Linked DNA regions of Homo sapiens: regions 2 and 3 are each linked to region 1. Evidence: promoter capture Hi-C in human tissues and cell types (Jung and others, 2019). All regions are on one chromosome and are shown on one strand. The core of a region is centred on a gene start or on the middle of the fragment in contact, and the rest is flanking DNA. Distances in the headings are between cores, read along the strand shown.

Evidence for each region. Contacts are between HindIII fragments. The study calls those that stand out against the background at their distance.
Region 2: a fragment that was not itself captured here is called in contact with the fragment with the promoter of NTPCR in region 1 in 1 of the 25 tissues and cell types used here (H1 embryonic stem cells).
Region 3: a contact is called between a fragment that was not itself captured here and the fragment with the promoter of NTPCR in region 1, in 1 of the 25 tissues and cell types used here (small bowel).

The regions. Positions count from the first base shown.
Region 1 is chr1:232,948,747-232,952,760 of GRCh38, reverse strand. NTPCR (nucleoside-triphosphatase, cancer-related) reads right to left here and starts at 2,150. Exons shown (of 5, transcript NM_032324.3): 1 at 2,017-2,150. The coding sequence starts at 2,050. LOC107985361 (a long non-coding RNA gene) reads left to right here and starts at 1,212. Exons shown (of 2, transcript XR_001738525.2): 1 at 1,212-1,433; 2 at 1,605-4,014. RefSeq lists enhancers at 1-206, 1,335-1,874, 1,875-2,416, 2,329-2,428. The HindIII fragment of the contact is 11,474 bases long and covers 1-4,014 here.
Region 2 is chr1:232,585,400-232,589,413 of GRCh38, reverse strand. The region is part of intron 1 of SIPA1L2 (signal induced proliferation associated 1 like 2); the gene reads left to right. Among named protein-coding and RNA genes, the nearest start is that of SIPA1L2, 43 kb to the left of the region's middle. The HindIII fragment of the contact is 5,763 bases long and covers 1-4,014 here.
Region 3 is chr1:232,667,832-232,671,845 of GRCh38, reverse strand. No RefSeq gene overlaps it. Among named protein-coding and RNA genes, the nearest start is that of SIPA1L2, 40 kb to the right of the region's middle. The HindIII fragment of the contact is 7,975 bases long and covers 1-4,014 here.

The DNA of each region.
Region 1 (4,014 bases), core at 901-3,400:
ACAGAAAGAAACTAGGCAAATAAAAACACCTGACAATAACTCCTAATGGGGAAAAAAGTTATGTGTAAAAGGAAAAAAAAAAAATTAGAGGGCATGGTGGTGCATGCCTGTAGTACTAGCTACTAGGGAGGCTGAGGTGGGAAGATGGTTTGAGCCTGGAAGGTGGAGGTTGCAGTGAGCCAAGATTGTGCCACTGCACTCCAACCTGGGCAACAGAGAGAGGCCCTGTCTCAATAAGAAGAGGGAAAAAAAAGATGGGTAAGGTGGCTCACACTTATAATCCCAGTATTTTGGGAGGCCCAGATGGGAGGATCACTTGAGGCTAGGAGTTGGAGATCAGCCTGGGCAACATAACAAGAGACAGGTCTCTACAAAAAAAAAAAAATACCCGGGTGTGGTGGCATGCGCTTGTAGATCCAGCTATTCAGGAGGTTGAAGTGGGAGGATCACTTAAGCCCAGGAGTTTGAGAATGCAGTGAGCTATAACTGTTTCACTGCACTCCAGCCTGGGTGACAAAGCAAGATCCTGTCTCTAAAATAAATAAATAAATGGAAAAGAAATCATAGATTACTATGTGGCTCTGTTGTGATTGTCTTTACATGGCCATAATACTGTAAACATTGACTAATGAAAATTACGCTGTAACTACATTAAGAAGAGAAGGAGAAAAGACAAAGGTGCGTGGGTTTGAGGACAGGTTTAAGAGAGCTACACTGTAGAATTATTTGAGTCTTTCAACTACGTGTAGGTAAGACTTTGATAAAGCAGAAACAAGAACCACCATCAATACAATCACGGTAACAGGACACCTCCATTAATAAAACACACAGTTGTCTTGGGGTCAGCCTGCTGAGTATCAAACTGCATTCCAAGTTTCAAATAAAGGATTGACAAACCAACTTTCAGAAAACAGTTCTTTGCAATACTTAGGAGTGACTTTAGATAGCAGGCATTTCTCAAACCACCCTCCTCCTCCTCACCCCCTGCTCCCCAACTCCCCCATCCAATGCCTGACAAAATCCCAAAGTCTGCAATATTAGCTGTAGCCTTTGCTACTTACAACTAAACATAATCATTAAAATAAAGTGAAAGAGAATTCTAGATCCAGGGTTACAGCCTTTGATATCTGAACCCACACTAAACTTCAAAATTAGATTTGCCTTGCAAAGGAGCTGAAGAAATCACTTTCTCCACTCTTAGCCCATCTATCTTTTTTTAGCCTATCTGATGCAGCCTACCTGTCCTTTTTAGTAATGCTTGATACATGGGTAGCGCCTTGGTTTAAAAGCACCTCCTCCTACACCTCTCATCTGACCTCAACGCTATCCTGCTTCTCAGATGAGAACTCCACAGGCCACAGGGTTGAGGGATCTGACAGACATCAGGAGGGGACAGCGACAGGAACAAGCAAGAGTGTCTGAGAAGGGCTCCTGTAGGTACCAAAGCTTCTCCACCTCTGGCCTCAGCTGTGGAGGGAATTCGTGGGGATGGAGATGGGGATGGGGGTGGGGGGATGAACTTAGATGGGAAAGAAAGGTTACAACTTCAGTTTCGCTGTCCTCCAACTAAAATTTACCATTTTTTTTTTGCACGATCAATGTAGCAAAGACCCACAGTAAGGAAATACCTGTGACTATCAACAGAAATTAGACATCTCCACTTCACATCGCGGTTGCCGCAGATCTCTTGAAATACCATTTGTGCAGACCACAACGTCAACACTACAGTAGGAGTTACCGCTGCCGCTGGCCCCTGCGGTTTCTGCCCTTCATCAAGAAGCCAGTCTAGGACCCCCTCACAAGTGTGTTCTAATCCTTTAGGCCCTGTGTCTTTTAAATCACGTTTTCCGGGAAGGAGTACAAACTCTTCAGACTACCAAGCCCGCCATTTAAATTGGGAACTTCAGAGGCCGGAGCCCTGGAGCCGGAGACCCTCCCCGACAGCACAAGGTCGCCCGCAGCCCGCGCGCCCCCACCCCCTCGACCTCTTGGAGGTGGGGATCCCCTCAGGGTTACCTGGGGGCCCCGTTAGGAACACGTGCCGGGCCATACTGGTGGGCGGGGGTAGGGGTTGCGGTCAGGGGAGCAGTCCAGGTTGGGGTCGCAATTCAGGTCAGGTCCGGACCAGGGTCGCGACTCAGGACCCGCCCACCGCGTGTCGCAGGCCCCGCCCCCAAGCGGTGCTTTGACCGGAAGCACCGCCCTCAAGACCACGCATGCGCCTTCTCCCGAGTCCCCGGTCCGCGCCTGCGCATTCAGCCCTCGGCATTGGCGCCTGTGCCGCGGCAGTTCCTATAGGCGGAGCGGGTTGTACGGTCTCTTAAGTTTCATTCTGGGTTCAGGGCTTTTGTGGGGTATTTGCAGAGATAAGTGCGTGAGAACGTCAGTTATTAAACTATTGCTGCTTCAAGTCAGCGCCATCACCCAAGTTCTGCCCCTTGACTCCGGACCTAGGAGCTGAAATTGCCCAAGGCTGCCGGGACAGCCCTTTTGTAGAAGGTTTGTGACCTGGAAGCATTCCTCAAAGGGGGATGCCATGTTAATGACTCCAACTTTGTTCTCAAACATTCCTGCAGAATAGAATCAGCTGGGGAGTTTTAAACTTGCTCTGATGCCTGGGTTTCACCTGCAGTAATAGGGAGTGTCAGAAGACAAAATTACAAGTTTAGTTTAAAGATCTAATTGGCTTATATTTAGGATCTAGAATCGAGAAATAGATCATTTCATAAAGCAAATAGAGTGTTCCAATGAGTTGTGCAGAGGAGGTTGGCTTTATGGGCAAAAAAAGGCTGAAGAACAAAACAAAGAGTGGGTATTTCAAAGTTACTTTCCTTATAGGGTTAAAACAGATTGGACTTCGTTATTGTACTGACTCAGGTTAACTACAATCTCCTGTTTTTTGGGAAAACGGGCCTGTTTCAAAGTTCAGTTTGGTTACATGGCACTTGGCACAAGTGACTCCATTCTGGTTTGGTCTAGTCTGCTAGGACCTAGTGCAGGAGGTTAGTCCAAAACAATGGCCTCCCATAAATCTTGTTTAACATGAGTAATTGGTCTTGAGCGAGTCTTGAGCACCTGTATTCTTTTTTCTTCTTTCTAAACTCCAGGAAGTTCCTGAAGTGCGCTAGGGTTGAGAACCACTGGTGTAGGCAGGCTTCCCGTCCTCAGCCATGCATAGGACGCCCAGTTTTCCCTCTTTACTTTCACACCAAAGTGTATAAAGATCTCCTCTTGCAAAGAATTAAATAGCTTCTCCGTCTCACTTTACCACTGCAAGTGTTCCGGCCAACGAATGACGTGGCAGTGGCCTTGGGCCACATTTACCTGTAAACTCTTTCAGTCTAACATGTGTACAGCTTAATTTGTAGTCAGTCGTTCCCCATCCTGGCTGAGAAAGCAGTTCAGTGAGTGCTCAACTTAATTGGTTTCTGCCCACACATGGACCTCTTGGTTTCCCTTTAGCCTGAGACATATGCCAGTCCAATGATTATCTAAAAAAACAAAGTTGGATTTGTAAAATATAGCTGTCATCACCATCATTTCTGCAACATTTGTAATGCTCTATTATTATAACAGTATACTATTTATTATCCCAACTGTTAATGTAGGGCCTTCCACCTTGATTTATTTTGCAGTCCATATATGTTGAATACAGTGAAAAGTTGATATAGTAAAGTAAATTCATAGGAGGAGCTTCCAAAAAAAAGGAAAAAAGTATATGTATCTCTTGTATCAAAAGTACTCGTTTTAAATGTTAATCAGATAGCATTTTCCATCACTGAAAAGCAGTTTGGATTTGCAAGGCTCACCGGAAGTTGGGTTCTTTTGTTTTGTTGCTGTGCCTGGAATTCTGGCATCAGTTTAAGTAGCTCAAAGATACATGGAATTCAGATATGGTGAATCAACGTCTCACAAAACAGAAAAAAAGACTCCATAGTTGAATGTACTTTATCCATGGAAAATGAATTATTTGGATGGTAGTTCCACGGATATCTTCTTGTTAGAAAATTCATT
Region 2 (4,014 bases), core at 482-2,981, 360 kb after region 1:
AAAGACAATGTAGTGAATGTTAGTGGATTTGGGAGAGTATACAAGTACCAGTGAGCTAACTGGGTGAATTTACATACTGTGTTACCGTAGTGTTACACAAGACTAGTCATTTGGGAAATTGATGGAAGATTAATGGAGATCCAAATGTTTAAATAGTTTAATCATTGTCTGACCCTAAAGAGAAACCTCAGTGAATACGTATTTGGCTTAATGAATTGAAATGAAACTGCGTTTTGTCACCCGATGGTGAGGAAATTTTAGCTCACCTGCTTTATGTCTCAAATTCTTTTCCATAAACGTGCCCCTGTGTTTCCTTGAGGGAACTGCCACCTAAATGTTTCTTTCAGATAGTGCTTCTCAATTATTTTAGTCTCATGCCTTTTTTTTACACTCTGGAAAATAATTGAGGACTCCAAAGAGTTTTTGTTTATGTGAGTTCTATCAATCACATAATCTACCATATCAGAAATAAAAAAGGGATTTTAGAAATCATTATTGAATTTAAAATAACAATATAACCACCTGTATGTTAACATAAATAATACTTTCGTGAAAAATAACTATTTTCCAAAACTAAGACACTTATTGAGAAGTATGCTTCGTTATTTTTTGCGAATATCTTTAATATCTGGCTTATTAGAAGACAGCTGTTTTCTTGCCTTGCATCTGCATTCAATCTGTTGTGATATGTAGCTGTGGTTGCCATCCAACCAAAGAAAACCTAGCCTCACACAGGTTTGTAGTTGGAAAAGGGAGTGCTTGAATTTCCTTTCAGATAATAGTGGATCTTCTTTGATATAACACTAGAGAAGTGGTATCTCAAAGTTTGGTCGAGATGTATGTAGATCCTGAAACCCTATCTATGAACTTTAAAAACTCTGTTTTAGGTATTATTTTGAATATCATGCATTGGCCACTTAGAAAAATCTCCCAAATGTTTATATATTTCACTTGTAATATCAAAAATTCTTGTCATGAATCAGAAAATTCTTAAGTGTAGGGAAATTGTCAAGATCACAGTGGTTATTCAAGTTTTAAGAAAGTCTAAAATTTTCATAAAAGCTTAATCTTACTGTTTTCCTCGAAAATGGGCCTGTTTTGTTTCTTTTCTTTAAAATGCCTGCCAGATAGCCTTGTCGGAATAACCATTGTTTATATATCGCTCTGTCAAGTACAAGGTTGGGTTCAATGAAGAAAAGTGGCTCATCACCTCATAGGTCCACCCCACAGGTGCTGACCCTTGCGACAGCCACCAGTATATGCTGCAACAGGGCTTTCCCTTCCTTCACACAGAGTCATAGTGTGTGTGTGCTCAAGAGTCAAGGCGTAATAAAATCAGTTTTTTACTTCTCCATTGTATTAGTCCGTTTTCCTGCTGCTGATAAAGACATACCCGAGACTGGGCAGTTTACAAAAGAAAGAGGTTTAATGGACCCACAGTACCACATGGCTGGGGAGGCCTCACAATCATGGTGGAAGGTGAAAGGCACGTCTCACATGGCGGCAGATAAGAGAAGAGTGAGAGCCAAGTGGAAGGGATTTCCCCTTCTAAAACCATCAGATCTTGTGAGACTTATTCACTGCCACAAGAACAGTATGGGGGAAACCGCCACCATGGTTTAGTTATCTCGCACTGGGTCCCTCCCACAACACGAGGGAATTATGGGAGCTACAGTTCGAGATGAGATTTGGGTGGGGACACAGCCAAATCATATCATCCATCAAGGACAATAAGTGAGGTGACTGATCTCTTCATTTATTTTAACTGCAGTTATGTGGTAAGATGACAGCTAGTAAGTACAGTGTGGGGCCACTGCCTTGCTGTGTAGTAAGGTACACACATTTTTACATGCTGTTGCTCTTGTACTGTTGATGCTGTACAAAAAGGCAAATAACAGCTTTAGAATTCTAGTTTGACCTCACAGATCCAGTTGAAGAGCCTTGGGGATCCTAAGGGGCCCGTGGTTCATACTTTTTGAGAACCACGACTTTAAGACATACAGGAAAGGTGCTAAATGAGACAGAACTAGACTTGACTCGTTATGAACTTAGTATTACAGAAATGGGTCAGATACCTCATACGTGTGGTGATAGACGTGTGGGGCCATGTGGGAGGGATGTGTAAGAGAGTTCCTGGAGTGTGGCACTTTGACTGGGGCTGTTGACTCCTGTGTCCTGAACATCTAAATCTGTACCTGGTGTATCAGTTCATACTTTATGTAGCAGTTTGAATAATTAGGGCAAGTGTAATGGCTGCATAAATTCATTAGTTTTTAAAAAGTCAAATGGGTTTTGTGTTCATAATAAAGATTAGTCAAGGTAATCTTTTTGTAGTATAAAAGTAATAAAGTTGTGAAATATAGCTGCACAGCCCCTCCCATCCCACCTTCCTGTGATACCGTCATCCTCAGTCTCCCTACCCTTGTATGTCTGTTTCCTATTACCATCAAGGCCCATGACACCAGCTGTGTAGACATACTCCAAAAATAATAGACGCAGTCTTTATCATTATTCACTTAAAAAGCCAACCAGTGTTCTTTCCCCTGATTGGGAATGTGCCCAGTATGAAGGGACAGCATCACATTGGTTATGTAATTGATGCTGTTTGTGACAAAGACTCCTGTTTCACTCCTGTTTTCCCAGCAGTTTCGCATTGTAACTAGGTAGTGATGATGTTTGCTTGTTTTCTGTGTATGAAGAATCACAAGTGTGTTTTTCTTGGGTGGCTCTAGAAGAGAAAGCTTTCATGCCTAGAAGAATATCTTGTTATTTCTATAGAAGCTTTTTAAAAATTCTTCATTAAAAGAAATTTTAAGTCATTTAGAGTAGCTGTTTTTGTGTGAGTTGATATTTTGACCCATTTTATTTTTCTCTTCAGTTTTCTGATTTGTGTGATTACGTGACGAGCTCTTCCTGTGAATCTCGAACACTCAGGTTGGAGTCGTTCGGTCTTTGGAGCCTTTTGGGAGGAAGCCAGGTGCTCTTCAATTGCCCTTTGCAGTAGGACTCCCTGGTAATAACTGTGGCGATGATGAACTTGTCTAGATAAAATGACATCTGATAAAATATTAATAAATACATTGTAGTGGACACCTGCTTCTGAGGATGTGGATGTGTGAAACCTAGACATTCAATTTATGAATGTCTTTTTAATTGACTCCTCTGGACACAGAGAGAGGACCCACATGATCACTGAGAAAATATCAGAGTACAGGTGGCAGAACTGTGGCAGAATCCCCTGTGCAAACTGTATCGCTGTGCGGAGACAGAGCTAACAAACAGGGTCTCAAGGAGAAACCGAGTCTTGTGCTTTGCTTTCATGAGGGATTTTTCTGAGTTAGCTGATGAAGCCAAGCTAAGTAAATATTATCTTCTTTTTGTGTTGGCCTTTTGTTTTGAAATATTCCAACTCTATTTCCTTCATAGTTTTCTCTTTATTGCTGTTATTATTTTTACAGATTAGAGGTACCACCTTTTCCAGTCTTGCTCATCATGGTTTTTCCTACTTCAAGCTGTGAACTATTTAATTCAGTTCAGCAAGCATTTTTGGAGTGTTTGCAAGTCAGTAGCTGTGTTATTACCAAACCTGCCATCTTGACTTTCTGCTGTTGCTATAAGCCCTTTGATTTGCATGTTCAGTATCAGCACTCTTAGCAGCTTCTTCTCTGTGTTTGCCTCCCTTGGTAGGTTTTTAGATTAAGGGAACCTTGTTATGGAGAATGAGGCTTCCAGGATTGGCCTTCTTCCTCCTTTGTTCTCTTTGTATGGTTTCATTGTTCTACTTTACCCTTTTACATGTGCACAGAGCTTCCAGTATCAAGCTGTTCCTTGGAGTAGGAAGTAGTTTTGGAGATGAGAAACACAGAGAGAGGAGGAGAGAGAATATTAGAGAAGAAAATTATTCTCTTTGGATCAGTTTCCATTAGGCATTAACCATTGGCCTGTCCCTTTCCCCACTGCCCCTTAGACACTGTAGGTCTTCATCTGTGCTTATATAATGAGGTCTGAATTGTT
Region 3 (4,014 bases), core at 421-2,920, 280 kb after region 1:
ACCATTCTGTGAAAAGATCATTTATTATTTGGGAGAGATTTTGAGAAGGTCATTCATTTTATTCTTTAATTTTTGTGGGTACATAGTAGGTGTATATATGTATAGGGTACATGAGCTATTCTGATATAGGCATGCAAGGTGTAATAATCACATCAGGGTAAATGGGGTGTCCATCACCTCAAGCACTTATCCTTTCTTTCATTACAAACAATCCAATTATACTGTTAGTTATTTTTAAATGTACAATAAATTATTGTTGACTGTGGTCACCCTGTTGTGCTATCAAGTACTAGAGCTTATTCATTCTTTCTAATTTTTTTTTGTACTCATTAACCACCCGCCCACCCCCACTACCCTTCCCAGTCTCTGGTAACCATCACAGTCGTTTTTGGTTCCATGGCATATTTTGCAGCTAATCCATGCTGATGGATTCACAAGGAGGCCATTTTGCTCAACAGACATTTCACAGATGCAATTTAAAGATTTTCCCATAGCCCTGGTGGGGACAGATTAGTACAACTTATTTTGAACCTTTTCCAAGCCAACGTCATCTGAGCCTTGCTTTACACTGTAGCACCTGAGGGACACAATCAAGCTCTTATTCATTTGCTGAAGCGGACCCAGGACTGCTTCCTGAGGAAAATTGTGACTTTACCTGAAGAAAAAAGAGTAAAGACATTTGGGGTAGAAAATCAGAAGCCCAGAATAAATAAAACCCTGTGTACCAGGGTCGACAAGAAGTTAGACTTTTTTGGATATGTTTCTCGGAGGAAAAGGTTCTTATTCCATACCAGGTGTAGCACCTAGGAAGTTAATCAGTCACAGGTGATAATGGAATTCTTAGTTGTAGACGAGACCACCTGGGGCTGGACAGGCTACATAATTTGTGAAGTCCAGTGAACAATGAAAAGGCCTGGAGTCCTTGTCCAAAAATTAGACATTTCAAAATGGGAAAGCAGAACATCAGTTTAAGGCTGGGGACCTTCAAAACATGGGGCCTTTGCAATTGTGCTGATTTCATGCCAATGAAACAGGGCATGACTGCAGGGAGGAAATGGAATGAAAACAAGAGTTAATTATGGAATTCTAGGAAAAAACTAACCTTTATAGGAAGGTAAGAGAGAAACCAGCAAAGATGGTGAGATAGGGAAGTCTGGGAGGTAGAAAAAAAAATCAAGAGTGAGTGGTCTCTCAGAAGCCAAGGGAAGTCATACTTTTAAAGGGAAACCACATGGACGTTCCTATGTATCCTTGCACTTCCCGTACACGGGCAGAAAATACGCATCTAATTGCTGCAGGATGAGGTCACCTGTCTCATGTTACTAAAGGCCAGCTAATGTAAGTACTCAAGAATATCCTTGCCTTTCATAGCTAGGAGGTCATCACTGAGCTGATTGAAAAAAGTCTCAATAATAAAAGAGCAACAGCCAGATGTCAGATTGTGTTGTGCTGAGAATGGACAGGGCATTGAGATAGTGGAGACAGCACCAAAGACCTACCCGCTGAGCTTGAGGAGAAAGGATTGAAAAGAGGGGAGTACCCGGCGGCAGATGTTAAGCTGCGAGAGTTGTTACTGTTATTGATGATGGTATTTTGTTCTTTTTTGATTGCTTTTAAGCGGGGGAAGACTAAAGCATGTTCGTATGCAGAAAAAAAAAATTCAATAGTAGAAAGTGAAAAGGCAGAAAAAGAGAGGAGAAAGGAAAGAGGAGAGAAAAGGGAAACGGATAAAAGATTGGAAGAAATAATTCCTGAGTAGTTGAAAAGCACAGAATCCAGGTGGTAAGTCTATAAAAACAGCACAGTTAAGGCATTGGGTGAGCTGAATGTTAAATATATTGGTAACTTGCAAGTATTCCTGAGCTTTACAAAAGACGTTATATCAATCAGAAAGTAGTAACAAGAATAATAAAGACTCAATGTGAAATCTTGGCAGGGTAGCCCTCAGGTTGGGGTTTTTATTTTGTGGGTGTGTATACCAGCCTGCGGTGGATGACCTGCCATTTGGACTAAGCCATTCATTTTGAAAGAAAGGGAGAGTATATATTCAAATGTGAGGGAAAAAGTAGGAATGAAATGAATGATGAATATAGGCACATTTTTTATGAATATGGTTACATTTGGGGGCAAGAGACTTGGAGGTAGGAACTGAAGTATTCCATGCTTTCATTCTTCCCTTATTTCCTATATGAAGTAGGAAACAAGGTCATTTGCTGAGGATAAATACTGAAATACCTAGTAATAAAAAAACTTACTTTGATTCATATAGTTCCTTTTTTTCTACACACTTCAAATTTCTTTAGCAACTGCTACTCTCGAACAACCTATTCTGGTATTTTGATAGACCGTTTCATTGTATTAATTTCTGTTCCCACTAATATCAAAGAGAAACTTGAAACATTTCTACAAAGACTTAACTAATATCAGAAATAGGTTTTCTCTCTATAGCATTTTATAGGGCAATCATTTCAGAACACATAGAACTCAGAATTAGACCATGATGTCTGGAAATGTAAGACTATTAGAGCAAGCCCCTCACAGCACTGGTTTCCCTGGGAAAGAATATTGTTCAAAATATAGCTCTGGATGGGAATTCTTCTGTTAATTTTACTTCCATATTATAGTCAATTCCATTTCTTTTCTGAAGAAGGGTCATATCTTAGTCCAAAGAGCAGCTTATCCAGCATGGTTTAAGATTCACAACAACCAAGTAAAGCTCCCCACCTAAAAGGGATATAAAATCCTTCAATATAAAATCCTGCCAGGATTTTATATTGAATCTTTATTATTCTCATTGCTATTGTCTCATTGATGTAACCTCCTTCATAAAGCTCAGAAATATTTGCAAGTTAATAACATATTTAATATTCATCCATTCAGTTCTCCTCGTGCCTTCCTGGTGCTATTTTATAGACTGAATCTCCTTTTAACTTCTATATAGTTTACTTAATTATTATTCTTATTATCCATTTCCCCAAATAGAATGTAAACTCTGTGTCCCCAACACCTAGAACCATTTCCATCTATAATAGGCCATTCATTGAATATTTGTTGGAAGAATAAATGAAAATACATGTTGAATATTTTCTATTTCAGTGTATCACATTAACTCACATATAGTTGTGCAGAATAATTTTCCATTCTGTTCCTATTTCTCTGGGCTTAAATTGGTGATAGCAGATAGTCTTTAAAAAAACATTAACAACAACAAAAAACTTTTTTTGTTTAGGTCTAGGCCAAGAGGTAGTTACACCCAGCTGATTTGCCCATCTCCGAATCACAAATGAAGGATGGAGTAAATCTACCTAAACAGAGAATCTAGAAGAGCTACAAGCGGGCAGTTTCATATGGTTTGACTTGAAAAAGTGCTATGTGTTTTACATTTTATTAAGTCATTTATTTCACAAAATAGCTTTAGGATATAATAATTATTGTTCCCATCTTACAGAGGTAGAAACTGAAGTTCTAAGAGGTTACATTGACCCAGTTAGAAAGCTAAAAAGTACAAAGTTTGAATTTGAGCACAAATCTTATTCTCAAACCTGAGCTCTTTTCAAAACTGTTTGAGAATTATTCGATGAAGTGTATTGTACTGAGAAAGAAATAAATAGAACAAAGCAAGATGTATTTCACATTTACAAAAAAAAAAAGGAAGGGAAAAGAACTTATGCCTGCAGTTTTCATCAGTAATTCCAACATGGAAAACAAATCTATTTCCAATTTGGCAAAGCCCTCTCAGTGAACTGATATCTTGGCTTGGATATGAGAAGCCATGTAAATATAATTCAAAAATTATGAGCCATTGAGAAATAATTTCTAGATACAAAAAAAGTCTGAGGCAACCATCCATTTCTCCACACTACGACAACGAAGGTCGCTTCTCTTTGTTCAGGGCCAAGTTCCAAAATTTATTATCCCTTTAATTCCACCTCCTCAATCGTGATTCACATAGCTTCATCTCCTGCAGACTCTGAGGAGGTGCAGGGTATGAGTGGGTAGCTACATCATAAGTCC